Regions from separate parts of the Homo sapiens genome. Here region 1 is linked to region 2. Evidence: promoter capture Hi-C in 16 types of primary human blood cells and fetal thymus (Javierre and others, 2016). All regions are on one chromosome and are shown on one strand. Each heading gives the region's core, a stretch centred on a gene start or on the middle of the fragment in contact. The rest is flanking DNA. Distances are from core to core; before and after follow the strand shown. Region 1 overlaps MGAM2 (maltase-glucoamylase 2 (putative)). Region 2 holds the start of WEE2 (WEE2 oocyte meiosis inhibiting kinase).

Evidence for each region. The method cuts DNA at HindIII sites, captures the fragments that hold promoters and counts their contacts. A CHiCAGO score of 5 or more calls a contact.
Region 1: a fragment that was not itself captured here is called in contact with the fragment with the promoter of WEE2 in region 2 in 2 of 17 cell types (M1 macrophages and M0 macrophages); the score reaches 7.6 in M1 macrophages.

The regions. Positions count from the first base shown.
Region 1 is chr7:142,191,368-142,196,662 of GRCh38, forward strand. MGAM2 (maltase-glucoamylase 2 (putative)) reads left to right here. Exons shown (of 48, transcript NM_001293626.2): 38 at 4,787-4,920; 39 at 5,198-5,232. Among named protein-coding and RNA genes, the nearest start is that of PRSS58, 64 kb to the right of the region's middle. RefSeq lists an enhancer at 4,724-5,295. The HindIII fragment of the contact is 5,144 bases long and covers 1,391-5,295 here.
Region 2 is chr7:141,704,030-141,709,720 of GRCh38, forward strand. It overlaps WEE2 (WEE2 oocyte meiosis inhibiting kinase), which reads left to right and starts at 4,324. Exons shown (of 12, transcript NM_001105558.1): 1 at 4,324-5,071. The coding sequence starts at 4,730. It overlaps WEE2-AS1 (WEE2 antisense RNA 1), which reads right to left. Exons shown (of 4, transcript NR_199841.1): 4 at 1-1,728. The HindIII fragment of the contact is 6,148 bases long and covers 4,069-5,691 here.

The DNA.
Region 1 (5,295 bases), core at 2,713-5,212, 490 kb after region 2:
TCAAGGTCATGAAGATTTATTCCTATGTCTTCTTCTAAGAGCTTTATAGTTTTAGGTATTACACCAAGATCTGTCATCCATTTTAAGTTTATTTTTGTGTATGGTGTGAGGTAGTGGTTCAATGTTATTCTTTCCTTCATTTTATTATCTTGACACCTTGTCAAAAATCAATTGACAGTAAATGAGAAGGCTTATTTTTGCCTTCTCAACTCTATTTCATTGATCTCTCTCTCTCTATATATATATATATCCTTATGCCAGTACCACACTGTCTTAATTGATGAAGTGTGACTCTTCCAATTTTTTTTTCAAGATTGTTTTAGCTACTATGGGTCCCTTGCATTTGATATGAATTTTGTAATCACTTTGTCAGTTTTGACAAAATAGCAACAGGGATTTTGATAGTTTTTACATTGAGTCTATAAATCAGTTTGGTGAGTATTACCATGTTAACAATATTAAGTCTCTTTTGATTCATTAGCATGAGGTGTCTTTCCACTTATTTAGATCTTTAATTTTTTCAACAATTATTTTTAGTTTTTAATGTATATGTTTTTGGCCATTATTTCTATAAATATTTATCTGTCCCTTTGTCTTTTCTTTTATCCTTCTGAGATTTTGCCACTTTCCAATGTCGTTGGGAAATTTCAGACTTGTTCTTTAGTTCTTCCCAGGACAGAGTGTGATCTTTTCTGTTCAACTGCCCCTTTCTGCTCAAGTATCTGAGCTCTCTGCCTTCTGTCCCCAGAGTTTACAAGAACCTCATACTATTTGATTTTGGGCTATCAACAGGTGATGTATCATGTTGCCCCTGGTGTTCCACAATCAGGGGCAACATGGTCTTCCAAACAGAAATTCTTCTTCCCTTTCCCACTTTCTTTACATCTTCATCTTTCAGTTGCTCTTTCACAGTCTTGCTTTCCACACCTAGCTTGAGGCTTTTCCAACCAAGGAAAAACTAGTTCTTCAGGAAAACACCCATGTCATTATATGAAATACACACAAAACAAATAGGTGTTTTGCAACCTCAGAGATAACCTTACCTTGGAAGAGTACAAGGATGAATAAGTCACAGTCCCTGCTTTCAAGGACCTCATTGTCTAATTATAGGAGTCAAACATGAGAGGGAAAATCAATTAACTCTACTGGGATAATCCAGAAAGTCTTCATAGAAGAAGTGATGTTTGAATGTTGGTTAAAAGAAGAGTAGAAATTTTCTTTTGGCAAAGAAGGGGCTTTCAGGGCAAAGAAAGCAGCAATAAGAAGATGTGAAAACTTGATAAAGTTTCTACCAAAAGCTCAACTTTCCCATGCACCATCCCCTCCTCTCTCTTCAGGGAAATTTGCTTTTCACACATCTGCATCCCATCGCCATCTTTCTCTTCAGAGAAGCTTGCTCCACAAATTATACTTTTCCATGGGTGCTCGTTTCTTCATGAATTATTTTTTATCTTCTTCCTCACTGCTGGTATATTGCTTTAGGATTTAGGCTGTGAAATCTTCTAACTAAACTTTCTCATCTTTCAAATTGGAAAAATCATGGCATCTATTGTTAATATAAAAATTAAATGATATAATGAATCCACAAGTACTTGGCATATTGTAAGCACTCAACAAACATTAGCAATATTTTTTAATTCCTTTTCATCAATATTTGAAAATGCCCCAGTTGTTCTTGCTTTTGCCTATATCCTCCTCCAACCATCATCTAATCTTTCAACTCCCTCTCATATTCAAGCTGTTTGAAGGAACTCTTTCCATACATGATATATATATTTTTTAATTCCCATACACCTTGATGTTTCTCCCTTTACCAATCACAAATGCTGGTCATTCTGACCTTGATCAGGCTAATCTCTTAGCACATACAATCTAAAGACCAACTTACATCTATTTCCTTCATGAAACCTGCTCAGATTACTCCATCCCTCCTAATTCCCTCCTTCTCTTAACTACTAACCTGACAGTATGTTCTACATTTTAAGTTATTTCCTCTACACACCTGGGGAGAAGACCATGTCTTCTTTGCTCTTTTCTGTCCAAGCACTGAACCATTTTTATTTCTTTTTATGAAAATGCCTTTGTTTGTCAGCCCTGAGTGCCTGCATTGATGGGAGAGCTCAGCGTTTGTGGCATCAGTGGTCAGTTTTGTTCACTGACTCTTCCCTGCTGACCTTCATGCTACATCCTCTGCTGACCTTGAGGTTCACAATATTGAGGTTCATAATATGCCCTGCTGCATATGCTCTGTGTGCTTTTGCTAGTTTCTCAGGATCTTGACTGTGCTTTCCAACCTAGATTCCAGATATTTATGCATTTACCTCTCTGGCCACAGTTCCACAAACTCCTTTGCAGGTTTCCCTTCCCAGTCTTTCCAAGCCTATGCTCCTTCCACACCTGGGTTCAGTCATCTTTTTTTTTCTTCACACCATGTAGCTTTTCCCTTGGATAAGCACAAACACATACTACTGGCTTTAAATACACTCTGGATTCAGATGGCCCCCAAATCTTTGTTCCCAACCCAAACCTCTCTTGAGCCTCAAACCTAGAATTGCCCATAGCTGTCTCATTTATGATGTCCCATAGGCACTTCAAATCTAATACTTAAAATGTTGAACTATTTATCTCTCCCTTAAACCTGTCCTCCTGCAGTCTTTTCTTTCTTCTTCTTTTTTTTTTTTTTAAGATGGAGTCTCGCTCTGTCACCCAGGCTGGAGTGCAGTGGCACGATTTCGACTCACTGCAACCTCCATCTCCTGGGTTCAAGCAATTCTCCTGCCTCAGCCTCCCTAGTAGCTGCAATTAGAGTTGCATGCCACCATGCCCAGCTAATTTTGCATTTTTATTAAAGACAGGGTTTTGCCATGTTGGCCAGGCTAGTCTCGAACTGCTGACTTCAGGTGATCCATCTGCCTGGGCCTCCCAAAGAGTTGGGAATACAGGCGTGAGCCACTGCGCCCGGCCCCTCCAGCATTCTTTATTTTAGTGAAAGGAACCAAGTTTAACTAGTCATTAGGTCATCCTAGATTCTCTTTCTTTTCCTGCTTTCAGTTGGTGACTCAGTTCTTTGCATCAGTCACTACTCTATCTTCCTGCCTTATTCCAGGCCTTCATTATCTCTCATCTAGACTGTTATAAAAATCTAAGCTATCCTCACCCCCATTTCTTTATCACACATACATACATATGCATTCTTCCAATTTGTGTATGGTTAAATCTATACCTTTTACTTCATTATGTTTTGTCCATTGTTTTTATTTGAAATTCCTTTCTCTTGTAGAAATCAGGTGGTTTATATATTCTTTCAGTTTTAATAGAACATGTGTGTATGTGTGTGTGTGTGTGTGTGTGTGTGTGTGTGTATTTCCATTCATTTTTGGATTTGTTTTGGTGTGAAAAATTGGAAATAACCCAAATGGATTAGTTTACACAACAGTAGTCAGCTACTTTTCCTGACATCATTTATTGACTAATTCATCTGTGTCTATTGATCTGTGATGCTTTTTTAAGCAAATACTTGGATTGTATACATACTAGGATCTATTAGTAGACTTTCTCTTTTGTTCAGTTGATTTTTCCCTCACACAGTTGTTGTTATTTTCTAAGGGTGCGTGCAGATGATCCATCTTCCACTGAAAGATAAACATCTTTTATGTATATTTGCCTCTGTGTGCAAAACATGTCTCGCTTTTTGAGGTACAGAAAAGCAGAGTGAATATTTCCAAAATGCTGTAGCTTTTATTTGGATCCCAGATCTGCCTCCTTATTCTTTTTTTCCCTCTTCCCCTGTCTGCCATGTGACTACAGACACACGTGCACCACCCTGCCCAGCTAATTTTATTTTTTTGTAGAGACAGGGTCTCAATGTGTTGCCTAGGCTGGTCTTGAACTTCTGGCCTCAAGCAGTCCTTCTGCCTTGGCCTCCCAAGGTGCTGGGATTACATGTGTGAGTTTCTGTGCCTGGCCTCCTTTTTACTCTTTTTTTTTTTTTTTTTTTTTTTTTTTTGAGACAGAGTCTTGCTCTATCACCTAGGCTGAAGGGCAGTGGCACGATCTCAGCTCACTGCAACCTCCATCTCCTCAGGTTCAAGTGATTCTCCTACCTCAGCCTCCTGGGTAGCTGGGATTAGAGGTATGCACACCACACCCGGCTAATTTTTTTTTTTTTTAGTAGAGACAGGGTTTCACCATGTTGGCCAGGCTGGTCTTGAATTCCTGACCTCAAGTGATCCACCCACCTTGACCTCCCAAAATGCTGGGATTACAGGTGTGAGCCACCACACCCAGACCTCTTTACCCTTTAAATGACCTTTGGTAAGCATTTTAAAGATCATCTTATTTTGTCCAGCTCACTATTTTCAGGCGAATGCCTTTCTAACTTCTCTGAATCTTAGCTTCCTAACAGTAAAAGGAGTGCAAGGAAACCTTTTCATGATGTTATGAGACACCACATAGGAAAGTGACCGGTATAATACTGGAATAGAGGAATTGTTCCATAAATAGCTATATTACGCCTCACTCCCACCCCTTTCTCTTACTCCAGGGTGATAGTTAATTAACCAGATTTTTCAAAAATGAAACCCACATTCTACGTGCAGATATACCTCTAGTCTTGCTGTGAAGTTTGTTGGGATCTTTAGCATGGCTTTGAGACAGCAGATTCTTTCAGGGAAGAAGTTATCTGACTCGGACCGAAGTACCCTCACCCTCTCATGCTCCAAGCTGCAGTTATTCTCTGTAAAGGAGTTTGTTTCTTCAACTCACCTCTTTATTCCCCTCCCACCAGAGCTGTGCAGGAGGTGACAGGACAGCGAGGGGTCATCATCACCCGCTCCACATTTCCCTCTTCTGGACGCTGGGGAGGACACCGGTTGGGAAACAACACAGCTGCATGGGACCAGCTGGGGAAATCTATCATTGGTGTGTGGGCTCATTCCCAGGGGCCTGTGCTGGCAGGGAGGGCACTGGAGTTTGTGCTGTTCAACAGCACTGGTTATGTCTCTATCATCATCTAGGTGGGTGGTAAAATTAACAAGAACTGAGTTCTCTCTGGGCGTGGATTTTAATTTACACCCATCTTTTAATATTTTCATCATGGTCCAGGGCTTTCTAATGGGGTAAGGAAAAATCAGGCCAAGCCTTCACTCTCCTCCCAAAGTGCTCCTTCCTCCAACACAGCTGTGTCTTCTCTTTGCAGGCATGATGGAGTTCAGTCTCTTTGGAATACCTTATGTAAGTCACATTCAGACCATTACTAATTGCCCAGTCAGATTTTAGTGAGTCAGCGCCTCATGA
Region 2 (5,691 bases), core at 3,074-5,573:
TCAGATAGATTTATAGTAGATTTCAAATTAATAGAATAACCTAGGGGTTTTTATTAATGGCACTAAAGTATCCATGGGTAAAATATGTTGTCACTGATTTGCTTCACAATACCCCAGCACTCACCCTCAATGAAGTTGCAGTTATGAACTAAACAAGACTGTAAAGCCATACATAATTTTTGAAGCTAGGTTATGGATACATAAGGACTCATTATAGTATTTTCTCTATTTTTGGTATGTTTGAACATTTCCATGAGAAAAAGTTAAACAAAAAGGAGGAAAGGGTTAATAACAGACTCCTAGGCTTTAAAGCAGCCTCCAGGCTTTATTTACTTAGCCCGTAATCCTTCCTTGGAATTCTGTTGTGCCGGCAGTGCCACCCATGAGATACAATTTTATGAGCACTTTGAAATGAGAAATGTGATGGGCAAATATCAAGTATTGTTAATGATTTATGTAATTATCATTGGATTCATCGCAGCTGACAAGTGGCTGCTTCTGTACACTCTCTCAGCAGGCAGGGAGGAGATTAGAAGAAGGTCCCCCTTCAAGGTTGCTGGCTTTGCTGACCATCCTTGTCATAGGAACAGAGCTGTGAGGAGTCAGGAGCACTGGAGACCCCTAGTTTCAATGGATTCACATCCACCGCAGCGGCCCCAATCTGGACCTGGTCAGTGTTGCCGCTGCTGATGGATTTGTCCAGGGAGCAGGAGAACATACACTGGTGATTAAAATAATGTTTTCTCTAAGTTACTGCAAACTTTCTCCTGTGTAGTTGAGGCAACACTTCCAGTTGTGGTGAGAGATTGAACAAAAGAAAAAGCATACAATGTTAAAGCTGGCAGGACCTTAAAGACACTGCCTAGCCCTCTCACTCAGCAGTGAGTCGTAGATGATTCCTCCAGATCTTGACGAGGCCCACAGGCCCTTGTTTAAGAACGTCGCTTGCTGCTTTGCTGCTTCTATGGGGCACATTCTGGTGATAAAGGCCAGCTGTTTTTCTCCACCAGCATGGAGTTCTCTCAACTTTGTTTCTGGTTTTTAGAGTCCCTGGCCAATTGTCTGGAGACCCAGAGAGCCACTGTTAGTCTAAGGTCGCTTCATAAATAAGGGTAATCCCGGTCCTGGATTCTGCCAGACTCCTAGAAAGACTGACAGTGAAAGTGTCATTTCTTGCTTGGGAAACCATACTTCACAATGGTTTTCAATAGGGCAGACCCATTAAATACATAAGAATCCAACAACACTCTTTTTTCAGAGTCGGAATGACTCAGTTCTAATTCAGTCTTAAATAAATAATGTGCTGGACCTTTACTTAGGCCTGTTTAAGTGTTTTTTACAATTCTCTCTCCTGACTTGGGGGACAATTAGGCCAGCATGTTCTTCCTTGGAGCGACAAACTCTCAAATAGCTCATTTTCCATGGCCTTAGCTTTACTTTGACAAAGGAACAGTCTAACCAGGAAGGTGAATAAAAGTTTCCACGTCTTGCAAATTTGAATAGATAGATTTTCCTGCTTCTGTTCTTCCCATCAACATTTCATAGGCCTCAGAACCAAGTCTGGTCAGAGTGGAGTCTAGGTGCTTCCTTATCACTCAGCAGTGTGTCTGCAAGGGGAGAACTTCCCTCAAGCACACAGTTGAGGGAACTCAGCCCTGAGATGCAAGGCTGCCCGCTTCTTGCACATCTTACTCCTGGGAACTTCGCTTTCCCCCTGTGCAGCAACTCCTGACACATTAAGAAAAAAATTCAAATTTTTTTTAAAAAGTCAAATATGGAGTATTTTAAACATGATTGAAATATATTAATTTATTTCCCCAAATTCATCCAAAAACAATTTATTGAACACCTACTATATGTTAGGCATTAAGGGGGAAACCCTCCCCTTTTCCTCTTATTGCCACAGATTACATGGGTCCCCCTTTTGACACATCATCTCAACTATCACCTGAAGCTTTATGCTGGGATGGATGCCTGTGGGATTAACATATACTGAAGCAGAGATGAAATTTTTCATAATGGAAAGAGGCTAAAAATGAAGAAAAGGCTACAATGTGACCAAAAAAATAGTGAGGCCATGGGCCAGAGGCCATAGGTAGCACCTCTAGGGATTCCCTTGGGTCATCCAGATCAGCAACTATGCAATTCTTATTATTTAGTTGTCCAAATTTGGGATATCTTTTTTGTACTCATTGTTACACCTTTCTTATTCTGAAGACTTAGCCACAATCATTATCTTCTGAGTAACAATACATGAAAAGGTGAATGGTGCAAGTTTCTAACAGTATTACTGCCGATAACATAAGACCTCAACCATTGCAATGGCATAGCTGCCTCCCTAGGCAAACAATGTAGTCATAAATAAGGGTAATCAAGAATTATAGCAAGGGAGAGAGAAAAAGCAGCAGGTGATAGAAAAAAAAAAAGAAAACCTGGTCTACTTGGGTAATACCTAATAAACCAGCCCCTGTGCCCTGTCTACAGGACAATAATATAGCCAGTGTTTTGAGTCAGTCCTGTTTTACTGAGAGCAAAGCCAGCCTCTAGCTGCCTGGAGAGGCAGGAATGACAAGCCATGGCATGTGAGGGGAAATTCATCAACACCAAGGCTATAGAAAAGAAATCTATCATCTGGCTTGCTGATTTGTAAACAAGACACTCCTAGGCTGAGAATCCCAGTTGATAATAATTGCATTACTGGTAACCTATGAGTTCTCCTTTTTCTTTGATGATTCTGTTTTTACTGGCCCCTGTAGGATACTGAATCTCTGACAAAGGTGGGCAGTGAGTTACTGCATTTTGTGAGCAATATTTTACCCCCTGTTGAATTATCTGGGATAGTTTGTGTGGGTGGGAGGCTGTAGGGAAGGGCCAAGGAAGGATGAATTGGTGTGCCCACCTACAAAGGGCTGGAGCATGAGAAGGCTTTGAGCTGAAAAAACACTTTGAAGTCTCCCCAGTTAGTTTTCATTTGGATTACCCTCCTCAGGAGTTCTGGCTGGGAATGGGGAAGGAATTAGGAGAAAGTGGTGGAGAGATCTGTGAAAAGAGGGAAATGGAAGAGGGGTGACAGGTAGCAAAGACTATAAAGAGAAGGGAAATAACATTTGTTTCAAACTCATCAAGCTGGCCTTGGTTCCTGTCTCTCTTTGGGCCCATGTTTATCATGTAAATAATTCCCTATTTGCAGTCCCTCTGAAGCCTCCTTGAGGGGCATGAGTGTATCATTTTCCTTTTTCATGGACTGCCTCTCACATAGTTTTCTTCTATAATGTGATATCAGTGAGGCCTTTTTCCTTTGATATACCTATACATTGTGTAATGATTACCAAAAATTTACCACACCCATATGCACCCATGCTGTACATCAGGTCCCCAGAATTGTTCATCTTATACCTGAAAGTGTGTACCCTTTGATCAGCATCTCCCCATTTCCCCTGCCTTTCCAGATCCTGGTAACCACCATTCTACTCCCTCCCTCTAGGAGATCAACTGTTTTTGATTCCACATATAAGTAAGATCATGTAGTATCTGTCTTTCTGTGCCTGGCTTATTTCACTTAATATCCCCCTGGTTCATCCATGTTATCACAAATGGCAGCCTTTCCTTTTTTATGACTGAGTAATATTCTATTGTGTGTGTGTGTGTGTGTGTGTGTGTGTGTGTGTGTGTATTCACCACATTTTCTTTATTCATCTGTCCATGGCTATTTAGGTGGTTTCCATATCTTGGCTGTTGAGGATAATGCTGCAATGAATATGGGTGTGTTGGTATTTTTTTGAGATAGTGATTTTATTTCCTTTGGCTATATAACTGGAAGAGAAGAGGGACAGCTTGATTGTATAATAGTTGTTTTTTTCTTCAAAGAGTTTTCCATCCTTCTCATAGGGGCTTCTCTGAGAAAGAAATTAAATAATGTGTACTAAAGATATTAAAAAGCATTTTACAATATAAGGCATTTTTGGCAGAAGCCATTGCTGTTTTCCAGTGATCAATATCTGTTTCTATGGTTTGTTGATCTTTCTAGCCTTTCTTTTGTCAGTTTAAATTTTTGTTCAATTCCCTAGAAGCTTTAACTGCTAACAGCTAACAGCTGCAGGAGGGAGATGCCTGAATTAGGGCAGGTGTGTTTGGCACAGAGCTAAGCTGTGTCTCTGTCAGGGATACAAACTCCAGTCAAGATATGTTAGAGGCTGTTTAAGGATCATTATGATAGCCAGGTGATGCTAAATTGTAATTACCTGCTGTTAGCTATTGGGTGGGTGGGGAGGAGAAGGGAGGAGAGGGTGATATTTATAAATGGCAGGTGTAAGGAGTGAAAATAATTTCTTTTCAATATTAGCTTATTCCCAAATTGGCTAATGGGTATTTTTAAAGCCATGCTAAATTAAAGGAATTCAATTTTCTCACTAGTATTTGGTAACACATGGGAGACTATGTGTCATATCCAGAAGAGTTCTGTACATGAACTGCATTTAATTGCTCCGAGAGTCACTGGAGCTTTCTTTAATCAGAATGGAAATCAGGATAAGCTGAGGTCTTATAGATTGGTGGTACTTAAGGCAGAAAATTAACACCGTGTTTTGTAGCTGTTAGTTGGTAGAGGGAAATTCAGGCTACCGTCGCGAAACCTGCAGGTTAAGTTATTTTCTCCTCCCTGCTTCTGTAGGTTCACAGCGTTCCCTTCTGATAGAGCTTTTTGTCTGTGTTGTAAAGCTCTTTGGCTGAGATGGATGACAAAGATATTGACAAAGAACTAAGGCAGAAATTAAACTTTTCCTATTGTGAGGAGACTGAGATTGAAGGGCAGAAGAAAGTAGAAGAAAGCAGGGAGGCTTCGAGCCAAACCCCAGAGAAGGGTGAAGTGCAGGATTCAGAGGCAAAGGGTACACCACCTTGGACTCCCCTTAGCAACGTGCATGAGCTCGACACATCTTCGGAAAAAGACAAAGAAAGTCCAGATCAGATTTTGAGGACTCCAGTGTCACACCCTCTCAAATGTCCTGAGACACCAGCCCAACCAGACAGCAGGAGCAAGCTGCTGCCCAGTGACAGCCCCTCTACTCCCAAAGTAAGTAAGGGGTGGGGGAAAAAGGGACGCAGGTCGCCAAGCTCTGCTTTCCTGTAGTTTAGCTGATAGAGTGGATTCATGTGTGTATGACAGTCACCTCCAGGCTGTGTATATCCTCAATTACACATTTATTGATGAAAATGAAGAAATTAAAATTACCAGAAAATGGACAGAATTAAATGGTTTGCCAGTTGTCTTCTCAAAACCACTGGTGCCAGTAACTGTTGGCTATTGGCCACAAACAAATCTTGGGTAGAAAAAAGTCCCTAGTTAAAGAATATTGGAACTGGAAGGAATATTGAGATTTAGAGCTCCAGCTGTGCAGTTTACATATGAGAAAATGAAGGGCCCAAGACAGAAACTGTCTCACAGCTCAGCCAATGTTACAGACAGGACTAGAAACCTGATCTTTTTGGCCTAGTCTATTGTTCTTTCCATTACGCCAACTGGCTCTATTTTTGTGTGATTATTTACTAATACTTTCTAATATAAGAACGTCCACACTCACTGTTTGAACATAGTCATATCTCTTTGCTGCTGCTCCTCCCAGAAACAACTCCTCTCCCCTCCTTGGTCTAATAGAAGAACCTCCAGGTTCTTCTAGTATATGTCAGCAAAGA